Linked DNA regions of Homo sapiens: region 1 is linked to region 2. Evidence: promoter capture Hi-C in 16 types of primary human blood cells and fetal thymus (Javierre and others, 2016). All regions are on one chromosome and are shown on one strand. Each heading gives the region's core, a stretch centred on a gene start or on the middle of the fragment in contact. The rest is flanking DNA. Distances are from core to core; before and after follow the strand shown.

Region 1 (6,663 bases), core at 532-3,031, 530 kb after region 2:
GGGGTCTCGCTATATTGCCTGCTTGAGACAGGCTGGTCTTGAACTCCTGGGCTCAAGGGATCCACCTGCCTTGGCCTCCCAAAGTGTTAGGATTACAGATGTAAGCCACCGTACCAATACATGTAAAACATTTTTAGATGAAGGAACAAGGACATAACTATAATAGTGACCATCTCTTGTTTTATCCTGTTCTGCATTCATTTCTCCTTTCTCTGGATTTCCCTGAGAACTCACCCCTCCAAAATCAATCCATGTGGTTCACAGAAAGTCAATCCTATCCTAACTTCCAGCACATGACCCAGGCCCAGCCAATCAGCTAGTCCATCAGGGATTCAGGGGTGGTCACATGACTCAAGCTGGGCCAGTGAGGGACACTTTTCCTCCAGTGACATTTGCTAACCTGGCAGCTGTCCTTGTCCCTACAAGGTGGGATGGGATGGTGCCTGTCTGAAAATGAAGGAAAGGAGAGCCCAGAAATTGAGACAGATTTGAGACATATTGTTCAAGCACCTGGGTCCAGCTATGCCTGAATCCATACACCTGTAGATTTTTTTTTTCAATTGTGTAAATCAGTAATTCTTTTTTTTCTTAAGCTGGTCTGAGAGTGTTTCTGTTATATTAGCTGAATGCATCTGATGGATATAGTCAAAAATGGGCATATAATCAGAAAATAGAGGTAAAATGTAGAAATAATGGAGACAGAATAAGTTTTTCCCTTGGGCCTATGGGTTTGGGTGAAGGGTTGGGGTTCCTAGAAACGACACGTCCCAAAGCTGGTGCTTATCTGAGCCATGCCTGGGCTGTCCCTCCGCAGGTGGACCTGGGTCCCATTAACCTGGACAGACACCTCCAAGATGAGCATGAGGGGGCTGCTGGATCTGTTCTCCTTTCACAGCTGTATCCTGAAGAATGGCAGTGAGCCGGAAGAGCCACAGGATTCGGCAAAGACGGACACACAGGTACCTGAGAACTCAACAGTTTTCCCATCAAAGGTGATGATGTGTGAGTGCCCGGCTGCTTGGCAGGTGCCAGGGGAGAATGGGTGGCACCCAAAGATGCCCCTTAGGGTCCCACATCTCTGCCCTGGCCCACAGGAGGAGGGGGAGCAGCACACAGCATGGGTGGAAGCCTCGCAGTGGCAGAATTGCTCACAGTGCTCCCTAGCCCAGAATGGCTCCCCGGCCAGGTGGTATCTGCCCCCCATGGAGCAGCTGCACTGGATGGGGGTCAAGCAGTCCGTGCCACTGAGCACAAATCCTGGGTCACACTGGCAGCCATCCTGGCATGGTGTCAGACAGCTGTCGGGCAGGGCAGGCTCGGTGCAGGAGCTGGGACAGGAGAAGCCACACAGCTCGTAGTGGCTGTCGGGGGGCCAGGTCAGCTCTGGAGGAACACAAGTCATTCAATGCAAGGATGTCAACTCACTGCCCCACGTTCAAATTATGTTCCCTGCTATCTCCCCAGAGCCCAGCTCACGGCAAACCTCAATGGATATTTGTTGGAAGAATTAATGAATGTGTCGAAGCCTTTTCTATAGCACATATTTGTTCAACTTTGGCATCCACTACATGCCGGGAACATCCCAGGGCCTGGGGACACAGCAATGACCAAGACAGAGATCCCTGACCTCATAAAACAGATGTTCTAGGGCAGACGTTGACAAGCTTCACCCTTGGGCCCAAATCTGGCCCTCCACCTGTTTTGGCACAGCCTACAATCTAAATAGTCTTTACATGTTTAAGTGGTTAGAAAAAAAGAAACCAAAAGAGGAAATTTTGTGAGGTGTGAAAATCATGTAAAATTCAAATTCCGGTGTCTATAAATAATGTCTTCATGAAAGCCAGCTCGCCGGTTCGTGTATTGTCTATGACTGTTCTTATGTTACAACAGAAGCTTTGAGTAGTTGTGGCAGAGTGTGGCCCTGAAAGCCTAAAATATTTATTATCTGGCCTTTTATCATAAAAGTGTGCTGGCCTATTCTAGAGGGGGGAAATGGGCGACAAACTAGCAATAAATAAAAGATAATTTTGGATTGAGAAACTGGGTTAGATCTGTGTTACCCAGCTTTAGGTAGCGCAGAGTGGCTGAGCCCCATGGGCTGATTTGAGGACAGTGGCTAGGGAGGCCTCTCTGCAGAGGTGACATTGGAGCTGAGGCCTGAATGATGGAAGGAGCCAGCCGTGTGTACGTCTGGGAAAGAGCATTCCAGGCCGGGGGAACAGCAGATGCAAAGACCCAGGGGTGGGAAGGCATTTGGCGTGGTCCAGGGACAGCAGAGAGGCCAGTGTGGCTGGACCCTCGGTGTGGAGTGAGCTAGACAAAGCCAGTGTAGGAGGAGGCAGGGTGAGCAGAGAGAGGCCGCTGTGGGGGCCTCTTAGGAGGAGGCTTGGAGGTCAGTTTTCATCCCAGAGGTAAGGGGGACCCAGGGATGCTTTTAATCAGGAATCTGATGAGATCTGACCTATGCTTTTTCATTTTTTTTATGTTTTTGAGACAGAGTCTTGCTCTGTCACCCAGGCTGAAGTGCAGTGGCACCATCTTGGCTGACTGCAGCCTCCACCTCCACCTGGGTTCAAGCGATCCTCCCGCCTCAGCCAGTGCACACCACCACACCCAGCTAATTTTTTTTTTTTTTTTTTGTATTTTCAGTAGAGACAAGGTTTCACCATGTTGGTCAGGCTGGTCTTGAACTCCTGACCTCAAGTGATCCACCCACCTCGGCCTCCCAAAGTACTGGAATTACAGGTGTGAGCCACTGTGCCCAGCCCTAACCTATGCTTTTAAATGCCTTATGGTAGGTTCTGGTGACACACTGGTGACCAAGAGAGACCCCATCCCTAACCCTTGTCTTTGGGGGTTTCACAGATCAGGGGAAAAACATACTGGAGGAGAGATTGCTGGGGAGGGTTTTGTGTGTGTGTGTGTGTGTGTGTGTGTGTGTGCGCTGGCGGAGTGGGGGTGTCCCCCAGTCTCAGGATTAATAAAGAAAGTCAGAAAAGGAGAAATGTCCTGGGTGGGATGTGGGAGATATTCCAGCTCAAAGTTCATCTTAATTTGAGCACCCAGAGTCTGGGGGCTGGAGGAGACACCTGCACCCTTCCTGGATGGGTTTCCTGGATTCCTGCTGCCTGGAATGTCCCCCCGCCTCCCCGCTCCCCCAGCCAGCTCGGCTCCCTTTTCCACCACCTTCAGTCTCCACTCCCAGGGCACCTCTCTGCACCCCAGGGAACCCTAACCCCCCAGTTTAATACTGCATGCCCCTTCTCCAGCACTCCCCAGCCCTGCCCCGCCTGACTTACTGTTTAATCACCTACTTACTGGCTGGGTTGACTGATTGTCTTCTCCACTGGAATGTCGCCTCCATGAGGGCAAGGTTTTGTCTGTTTGGGTCACTGCTGTGTCTGCAGCGCCTAGAATGCTGCCTAGCACTTAGTGGGTGTTCAGTTAACCTTAGTCAAAGTGTGTGATGCCCCCGGGGCTTGTCTCTGGCTTTGGGAGGAGGGGTGGGCCAGGCAGGCCAGAGGCCAGAGCACCCACCACCAGTCCCTTGTGTTGGCCTTCGGAGCTTGCAATGGGCTGTTTCCTTTGGACAAAGAGAGGTTTTGTTTGCAAGATGCTGAACTTGCTTCCTGCTCTGAGAGGAGTGAGGGACTAGGGGCAGAGAAAAGGAGTTGCGCCTTGGGGTCCTGGAGGTTAGAGGCCCAGTCCTTCGGGATAAAGTCCTCACTTCTTGCCTGCCATTCAAGGCCCCACAGACACAGCCCAGGACCATGTCTCTCTCCAGGCTCCCCCATCTCTGGCTCAAATTTACACAGTCTCTGGGCTTCTGAAAACCTTGTTCCTTCTCCCTAGAACATTTGGCTTCTCCTTGCTTACCTATTGGCTTTGACTTGTCATTCAAGCCTCAGCTCTCGTGGCCCTTCCTCTGGGAAACTTGGCCTGACTTTCCAGGCTGGGCCAGCCCCTCCTCTGTGCTCCCCTGTGGCCCTACGCTTCCCTCATGTGAGCCCTGATCACTCTGCCGTGGCTGCCCCACCACAGACTCGGCCACCCTGGCAGCGTGTGGGCCCTACGAGGTCAGAGACCCGGCACTTCTCAGTCCTGCCCTGGCCCCTGCATCACCCAGGGCAAGATCAGGCCCAGGGGGACCCCTCCCTGCCACTCCCCAGCTGTGCGGCTCTGTGTCTGCTCTTCATCTGTGAAATGGTCGCGTTGTCCCATTCACACCAAAGGGATAAAAAGATGGCTCAGGACCCATCTCAGCTGCCTGCTGGACTGGAGAGGGTGTGGGCCGGGCTGATCCCAGGCCCTCCCCAGGACAGGCTGACCCAGACTCTGGGACAAGACCTGCCAACAGCAGAGCCCTGTGGTTTTGATCTCAGGACAGAGTGATGTTAACACAGGTTAAAAGTCAATTTCAGGCTGGGCACGGTGGCTCACCAGCACTTTGGGAGGCAGAGGCAGGTGGATCACTTGAAGTCAGGAGTTCAAGACCAGCCTGGCCAACATGGCAAAATCCCATCTCTATTGAAAATACAGAAATTAGCTGGGCATGGTGGCATGCTCCTGTACTCCCAGACACTTGGGAGTCTAAGGCATGAGAATTGCTTGAACTCGGGAGGTGAATTTTGCAGTGAGCCGAGATTACACCACTGTGCTCCAGTCTGGGTGACAGAGTGAGGCTCCATCCCCCCTCAAAAAAAAAATCAATTTCATAGTGACAGCTAATACTTGTAGAGCATTCACTATATTCACTATATTGCCAGCTACTGTTTATTTGTTTGGCTCTCACAACAACCCCACAAGAGAAGTGTTATTTTCACCATTCTTTCTCTTGTTAAAGGGGAAACTGAGGCACGGAGAGGTTAAGTGACGTCCCCAAGAGCACACAGCTGAAAGTGGTGGTACTGGCATCCTAACCAAGGCAGGCTGACTTTGGGATCTGTGTTCTCAATCTCAATGCTATACAGATCAGTGGGATAATTCCCTGCTTTGAAAAATGAAATAGAATAGAAAAGAATGTAATGCAAAGTATTGAGTGCATTTTCCTATTTGGTGACACTTTGTGTGCTGTGTATGCATATATTGGTGTGGTCAGCTGAAGAACAGCCCCTCAAAGATGTCCACAGTCTAATCGCTGTATCCTGTGATACGTTACATGGCAAAATGGACTTTGCAGATGTGATTAAGGTTCTAGACCTTGGGAAGGGAGAGATTAACCTGGATTATCTGGCTGGGCTCAGTGTAATCACGTGGGCTCTTAAAAGTGGGAGACAGAGGCCAGAGAGTCCATCAGAAAGAGGCAGGGGATTTCGAAGCATAATGGGGACTTGACCTGCTGTTAGTGGCCTTGAAAATGATGGAAGGGGCCATGAGCCAAGGAATGTGGGTGGCCTCTAGAAGTAGACACCAACCCTCAGGTTACAGCCAGCAGAGAGACAGGGCCCTCAGTCCTATAGCCATCAGAAACTGAATTCAGCCAACAATTTAAATAATTAAGGAAACAGTTCTCCCCTAGAGCCTCCAGAAAGAAATGCACTCCTGCAGACACGTTGATTTTTAGGCCAGCGAGAACTGTGTTGGAATTGTAAGAAAAAATTTGACATAGCAAGACCCCATCTGTACAAAACATTTTCAAAAAATTAGCTGGAGTTGGGCCGGGAGGGGTGGCTCATGCCTGTAATCCTAGCACTTTGGGAGGCCAAGGTGGGCAGGTCATGAGGTCAGGAGATCAAGACCATCTGGCTAACATGGTGAAACCCCATCTCTACTGAAAATACAAAAAATTAGCCAGCTGTGGTGGCAGGTGCCTGTAGTCTCAGCTACTTGGGAGGCTGAGGCAGGAGAATTGCTTGAACCCAGGGGGTGGAGGTTGCAGTGAGCTGAGGTCGCGCCATTGCACTCCAGCCTGGGCAACAGAGTGAGACTCCATCTCAAAATAAATAAATAAATAAATAAAAATTAGCTGGGTGCAGTGGCTCACACCTGTAGTCCCAGCACCTTGGGAGGCTGAGCAGGAGGATCGCTTGACACTAAGAGTTTGAGAACTGCCTGGGCAACATAGCAAGACTCTGTCTCTACAAAAAAAGTTTTAAAAATAGCCAGGTGTGGTGGTGCATGCTTGTAGTCCCAGCTACTCAGGAGGCTGAGGCAGAAAGAGCACTTGAGCCAGGAGTTGGAGGCTGCAGTGAGCCATGATTGCACCACTGCACTGCAGCCTGGGTGACAGAGCGAGATCCTGTCTCAAAAAAAAAAAAAAAAAGTGTTATTTTAAGCTGCTGAGTTTGTTGCAATTTGTTACAGCAGCAAGAGATAGAAAACTAATAGAATTAGATCCTGAAATGAACTATATTTTGTATTGTGGGTCTCCAACAAAAATGTTTGAAAGACTGCTTAATGCTCTTGACAAAGATCACTTGGCAGCAGGACAAGGGTGAGAGGCCGCAGACATTTGTCCTTTGGGCACCAGCCAGTACTACTGCCCACTGCTAACCTCATCCCAACTTCTGCCTGGGCAGTCTCCCCAAGGGCAGAGCCCGCGGTCAGGCAGAAGTCAATCGGAGACTCACATTCCCCTGGCCACAGTGAGAGGTACAAGAAGGAGTCAGTTGAAGCCACAGAGACGCAGTGCAAATCATGCTGGAGCTTCTGAGACCCACGGAG
Region 2 (6,587 bases), core at 2,945-5,444:
TGTTTGCCACCCAGAAGTCAGTGATTCTGTTAAAACTGTAGGAAGATCATGTCCCTGCTCAGATCTGTCCAAAATAATGTGATGTTTCCCCAGCGCATTCAGAATAACAATGGGCCCAGCGTGGTGGCTCATGCCTGTACCCCAGCGCTTTGGGAGGCTGAGGTAGGTGGATCACTTGAGGTCAGGAGTTCAAGGCCAGCCTGGACAACATGGTGAAACCCCGTCTCTACTAAAAATACAAAAATTAGTCGAGCACAGTGGCATGCGCCTATAATCCCAGCTACTGGGGAGGCTGAGGCAGGAGAATCGCTTGAACCCCAGAGGCAGAGGTTGCAGTGAGCCAAGATCATGCCACTGCACTCCAGCCTGGGCAACAGAGCCAGACTCTGTCTCAAAAAAACAAAACAAAACAAAACAAAAAAACCAAACCCAGAATAACAATGGTTAACAGGCACTTCTCTAAGCACTTCACATGATTTATTCCACCTAACGATCATGCCTACCCTATAAGCTTGGTATTAATATTATCCCCATTCCACAGATCTTAGAATCTGAGGCACATAGAAAGAAGTTAAATACCTTGCCCAAGGTCACCCAATTTTTTTTTTTTTAAACAGAGTTTTGCTCTTGTCACCCAGGCTGGAGTGCAGTGGTGCAATCCAGGCTCACTGCAACCTCCTTTTCCTGGGTTCAAGTGATTCTCCTGCCTCAGCTTCCTGAGTAGCTGGGACTACAGGCACGTGCCACCACACTCGACTAATTTTTGTATTTTTTAGTAGGGACGGGGTTTCACTATGTTGGCCAGGCTGGTTTCGAACTCCTGACCTCAAGTAATCCGCCTGCCTCGGCCTCCCAAAGTGCTGGGATTACAGGTGTGAGCCACCATGCCCAGCCTTAGGTCACCCAATTTTAAGTGGCCAAGCCAGGGCATGAACCAGTGTCAGGGTAAAATCGCAACACATCATCCACAGTTCTCTGTCCACTCCTTCGACCTCACCTCCTCAGGTTCTCGGTCTTGCCTGAGAAACTTGAGCTGACATTGGCCTCCGGGCTGCTCTTCCTGCATGCTGAGCACACCACCTCTGCTCTTGCTATTCCTTCTCCACAGAAATTCCTCTTCCAACTCAATGTCCCCTCCTCAGAGGCCTTCGCTGACCACCCTCGCTAGGGCAGCATCTCCCTCTCCCTTCTATGATAGGCTTTTCTTCACAGCACTCATCTCTACCAGAAATGATAGGGTCTGTTTGGTTCCTACTTTACTATCTGTCTTCTCTGTGTCACAGCATAAGCTCCAGGAGGGCAGGGACATGTTCTCTGTTTGTGGCTGTTTCCCCAGGGCTGGTGTTCTAGGTATACAGGTGGTATCATTCTAGGCACTGAAAATACAGGTGACTGAGATGACAAAACCTCCTGGCCTCATGGACATTCCATCCTAATGGTTCCAGAATTCTGGAACCCAAGAAGGGATCAGGGCAGAGCCCTGAGGTCTCTAAGAGAATGTCTGGCCACCCAGCCTGGTGAGGGTGGGTCCCTGAGGCCCACCTCTCCATGTCCTGCAGGCGCCTCAGTTGATTCTGCAGCCGCTGCATGGGATCTCGGAGCGTATGCTGCTGTCTTCGCATGGCCCCAGCTTGGGCCCGGAGGAGGAGAGCTCGACGCTGGGTGTCTTGAGTGTGCTGACGTGCCTGCTCCATGGCCGTGTCTGTGGGAGGAACAGGGGTGGCCATCAGCACCTTTCCCGCCCCACATTCTGGTGCCCATCTTCTGGCCCCATGGCTCACCCTGAGCCTCAGTGTCTCGCTCCATCAGCTCCAGGCTCTGGTCGAGTTCCTGGATTTCTGCCCGCAGGCGGGTCACAGCAGCTTCCAGCTCTAACTTCCGACGGACCTGGGAGGATCAGATTCAGGGTCAGATGGTCTGATCGGGGCTCAGCCTGGCCTGTCTTTTGGGGGTACCAGGCTCCTCAACTGGTGGCAGAGGGTTTTTGCTCAGCAGTTTCTGTGTCTGACACAGAAGCATTAGGGTATTGGCTCCCTCCCTCCTTCCTCCTAGGATTGTCTTACCCACACTTCCAGCCTGTTTCCTGTCTGTGCTGGTGACAACCACATCTTTGTCCCAGTACTGATCTCTTCCCGGAGCCCTGCACCTAGAAGTCCCAAGGCCTCCTGGAAGCCTCCCCTTAGGTGTCATATGAGCCCCTTGCACCCATTGGGTCCCACACTGGCCTCAGCATCTCTCCCATACCTGTCCCATCATCTCTTCTCACCAGCTTTGATGCCACATATCCAGGTCCCACCTCTCTGCGCCCAGCTAATTAATGCTCTTTATTTATTTTTTCTTTTTTTGAGATAGAGTCTCGCTCTATTGCCCAGGCTGGAGTGCAGTAGTGCGATCTCAGCTCACTGCAACCTCTGCCTCCCAGGTTCAAGCGATTCTCCTGCCTCAGCCTCCCAAGTAGCTAGGATTACAGGCGTGTGCCACCACGCCTGGCTAATTTTTTATTTTTATTAGAGACAGGGCTTCACCGTGTTGGCCAGGCTGGTCTCGAACTCCTGACCTCAGGTGATCCGCCTCCCAAACCACATCTTTGTCCCAGTACTGATCGCTTCCTGGAGCCCTCAGGTGATCTCATCACCTGAGATGAGGCCTCAGGTGAGCCTCCCAAAGTGCTGGGATTACAGGTGTGAGCCACTGCACCTGGCTGAGCTAATGCTGTTTCCACTGGACTTTAAGCCCTATGAGGATGGAGATCAAGGCTGTCTTGTGACCCATTGTCCCCAGCATCACCCAGCACCTGGTTGGGCTTAGAGCAGAAGATCTACAAGTCATTTTTCGGATGAAAGAGAATCTTGTAGCATATGCTTCTCACCTGTGGACTGTCCTGGTGGCCATACCTAGGAAAACGAGGCCAGAGTCAGCGGATGAGTGGGGCTTCTAGGGGGGAGGGCAATAGGTGTGATGCTGTGGTGGGGACAGGGCTAAATGGGAGTGGGGAAGACAGGAGGGGATAGCTTTAAGAAGCAGTTACCAGAGTAGGTTTCCCCGGATCTTCTTGACAGTCCTACAGTGCAGAGGCAGAAAGAGGAGTTACTATGGGCCTCACCTGTGCCCCCTCCCCTGCTCTAGCCCAGCTTACCTCTGACTGTGCACATGCTGCAAGATGTAGGCCCAGATGTCAGCCCCCTGGCCCAGACACAGCCTGTGGGGACAGTGTGTAAGCATATGCCTGGGGCAGCACACAGGGTGTGGGATCCTCATTCCTAGGGTGATGGTGGTAGGGAGTTTTTACTAGGGAGTTCTCACTTCTTGAGGAGGGAAGGCCCAAACTTTTTTTTGCCTTTTTTTTTTTTTTTTTTTTAAGAGACAGTCTCGCTCTGTCGCAGTGGTACGATCATAGCTCCTTGCAGCCTCAACCTCCTGGGCTCATGCGATCCTCCCACCTCAGCCTCCAGAGTAGCTAGGACTACAGGCAGGCACCACTACACCCGGCTAATTGGTAAAACATTTTTTTTGTAGGGACTGGATGTTTGCACTAAGTGTGGTGTTATTCTCATTCCCTGGGAAGGCGGGTGGTGGGGGAGCGCGGGAGAGGCGGGTGCTCCCTTTCTCCTGGGAGTGGGTTATCCCAGTCACATCCAGAGGTGGAGGTGGGGGATGTACTGCCAGGAAGTGCCATCTCATGACCAGACGTGGGGCATCACTCCTACAGCTTCAATCCCCGATGGGGTGGCCACGGCTAACTCCTGAGTGTCCTTCTTGGTTAGGTTAAGGGAGGGAGGGGAGGTGCTGCGGGGACAGCCTCACTCTGGAGATCCTATTTCCATAAGGAGCGAGGTCTTAGCTAACTCGTGGAGGATCCTCACCAGTGCTAGGGACCTCACTCTGGGGAGCCTCCCAGGGTAGGGAGCCCTCAGTAAGTCGGGTCACTCTCGATGGGGAATTGGGGGGAGTCGAGTCCTCAATGAGGGGTGGAGTTCTCACTCCCGGAGACTCAATCTCCAGGGTGGGGTGTCCTCACTCCAGGAGCGGTCCTCACCTGCGCAGCGTCGATTCCGGGGCCCGGGCCGCCACGGGCACCCCCATCTCTTCGACCGCCCAGCAACCCAGTTCCCGCGCTTCCTGCGCTAGCTCCATGACAGCGCCGCGGCGGCGACACCGCCTCCCTCAGCCTCTTCAAGTGTGGCGCCCGCCTCTGACGTCACGGGCGCGCCAACAGTGACGTCATCGGTTGCCGGGCAGACAGCGGGCTCGGGCGCTGCATAGTAATCTTAGCGCGGTCAGGCTGGGTCTTGCAGCGCTCACTCTTCCCAGGTAGGTCTCCTTGAGTGGAAATGAAAAGGGCGTGGAGAGACTGCAGCCCCGCCCGCCTTCCCTCGTTCTCCCGCTCACTACCAGCTAACCCGAAAGAGGCAAAACAGTCCTTGATGCTTCCATTTATTTTCTTTTTCTTCTTTTAACTAAACACTTTTATTTTAATAGAGATGGGATCTCACTTGTTGCCCAGGCTAGTCTCAGCTTCTGGGCTCTTGAACTCCTGGGCTCAAGCGATCCTCCCGCCTCGGCCTCCCAAAATGTTGGGATTACAGGCGTGAGCCACCACGCTCACCCCCTTTATTTTCTTGACAAAATGGGACTTGCGTCCTAGGAGGACTGGAACCAGGCAATGAGATCCTGGACTTACTGCTCTTTGATTTCAGAAACAGGTGTCTCATGTCTGAGTGGAGGGTAGGGGCAGAGAGCATGACCCTAACATTTCCCTGGCATGCGTTTTCCCATTCATTCGTGCTTACCATTCCATAAACTCAGGGAGCTGACCCTGTGCTGGGTGATGCTGGGGACACCATGGTGACCACAACAGCCCTGGTCCCTATTGTACGGAGCTCACAGTTGAGTGGGGAGACAGACGCACCACCAGGTAGGGGTGGTAAAAATAAGCAGCAGGGGTGGGTCAATTTGGGACACAGCAGGTGTGAGAGGTCTGCGCTAGACCAGCAGTCCCCAACCTTTTGAGCATCAGGGACTGGTTTCATGGAAGACAATTTTTCCACAGTCTGGGGGATGGAGGGTGGGAGCAGTGGATGGTTTCGGGATGAAACTGTTCCACTTCAGGTCGTGAGGCATTATATTCTCTGTCTCTCTCTCTCTTTTTTTTTTTCTTCCCTGTTTTTTTTTTTGAGGTGAAGTCTCCCTCTTTCACCCAGGCTGGAGTGCAGTGGCCCGATCTCGGCTCAGCGCAATCTTTGCCTCCGGGGTTCAAGCGATTCTACTGCCTCAGCCTCCTGAGTAGCTGGGATTACAGGCGCCCGCTACCATGCCCAGCTAATTTTTGTATTTTTAGTAGAGACGGGGTTTCACCATGTTGGCCAGGCTGGTCTTGAACTCCTGACCTTAAGTGATCAGCCCATCTCAGCCTCCCAAAGTGCTAGCATTACAGGTGTGAGCCACCATGCCCCGCCTAAGCATTAGATTCTCATAAGGAGTGCGCAATCTAGATCCTTCGTATGCACAGTTCACAATAGGGTTTGCGCTCCTGTAAGAATCTAATGCCGCTCCTGATCTGGCAGGAGGTGGAGCTCAGGCAGTGATGCTCACCCATACGCCACTCACCTCCTGCTGTGCAGCCTGGTTTCTAACAGGCCATGGACTTGTATTGGTTCACGGCTTGGGGTTTGGAGACCCCTGCCCCTGCCCTAGATGAAATACTTCTCTGATGCTGACTAACCAACCATGCTTAAAAGCAAGGCCCGAAAGGATCAAGCTATTATTTAGCTGCATTCCAGAACAAAATTCAAGAATATTTATAGAGATTAAAAAAAATCCAGCATCCAACACTGTAAAATTAACAATATCTGACATCAGTAAAAAATTATAAGGCAATGGCTGGGCGTGGTGGCTCATGCCTGTAATCCCAGCACTTCGGGCGGTTGAGGTGGGAGGAATGTTTGAGGCTAGGAATTTGAGACCCACCTGGGCACCACAGCAAAACCTTGTCTCTATTAAAAATTAAAAAAAATTAGCCAGGCGTGGTGGTGCACGCTTGTAGTCCCATCTACTTGGGGGGTTGAAACAGGAGGATCAGTTGAGCCTGGGAGGTTGAGGCTTCAGTGAGCTATGATGGCACCACTGCACTCCAGCCTGGGTGACCCTGTCTCAAAGCCAAAACAAAACCAAACCAAAATAAAATAATCATCTGTATTCATGTTTCATAATATCCTCAATGGGTTTGTGCCTTTTTGGTACAGCTGTCAAGCAGCTCAAGAAAGTCGTGGGCTTTATCCGCTTAATGTAAGTGGCCGCTCTTGACTCTGGTTCCCAGGAAGACCTTCAACCTGGCCCCAGCCAAAAAGGCTACAAGCTGGCCCCCAAGAACTCACACAGCTTTTCCCAGTTCAGATGGCCCCAGGATAGCATGCCCACCAGCTTCCAGGAATCACTGTGGTTACTGTGCCCAGGTGCCTGAACCTCACAGTGCTGTGCATGGGGAGAAGCCTCTGCTGGGTGCTGACCTACCAGACAAGGATGGGCCAATTTAGGTAAATGGGAATGAGGAAGGAATGCCCGGCCCCAGAAAACCTCCCTCGAAGTTC

The links. Contacts are between HindIII fragments. The CHiCAGO score rates a contact against its expected background, and 5 or more counts as called.
Region 1: a fragment that was not itself captured here is called in contact with the fragment with the promoter of HAUS5 in region 2 in 2 of 17 cell types (M1 macrophages and total B cells); the score reaches 6.0 in M1 macrophages.

What each region holds. Positions count from the first base shown.
Region 1 is chr19:35,081,252-35,087,914 of GRCh38, reverse strand. HPN-AS1 (HPN antisense RNA 1) reads left to right here. Exons shown (of 4, transcript NR_024562.1): 3 at 815-959. It also overlaps the pseudogene LOC100420797. Among named protein-coding and RNA genes, the nearest start is that of HPN-AS1, 22 kb to the left of the region's middle. RefSeq lists enhancers at 1,427-1,536, 1,647-1,696, 2,983-3,797. The HindIII fragment of the contact is 229 bases long and covers 1,667-1,895 here.
Region 2 is chr19:35,610,342-35,616,928 of GRCh38, reverse strand. It overlaps HAUS5 (HAUS augmin like complex subunit 5), which reads right to left and starts at 4,194. Exons shown (of 19, transcript NM_015302.2): 1 at 4,037-4,194; 2 at 3,137-3,199; 3 at 3,029-3,061; 4 at 2,870-2,894; 5 at 1,782-1,887; 6 at 1,543-1,702. The coding sequence starts at 4,134. HAUS5-DT (HAUS5 divergent transcript) reads left to right here and starts at 4,265. Exons shown (of 2, transcript NR_186318.1): 1 at 4,265-4,311. RefSeq lists enhancers at 4,057-4,316, 3,905-4,460. The HindIII fragment of the contact is 7,658 bases long and covers 514-6,587 here.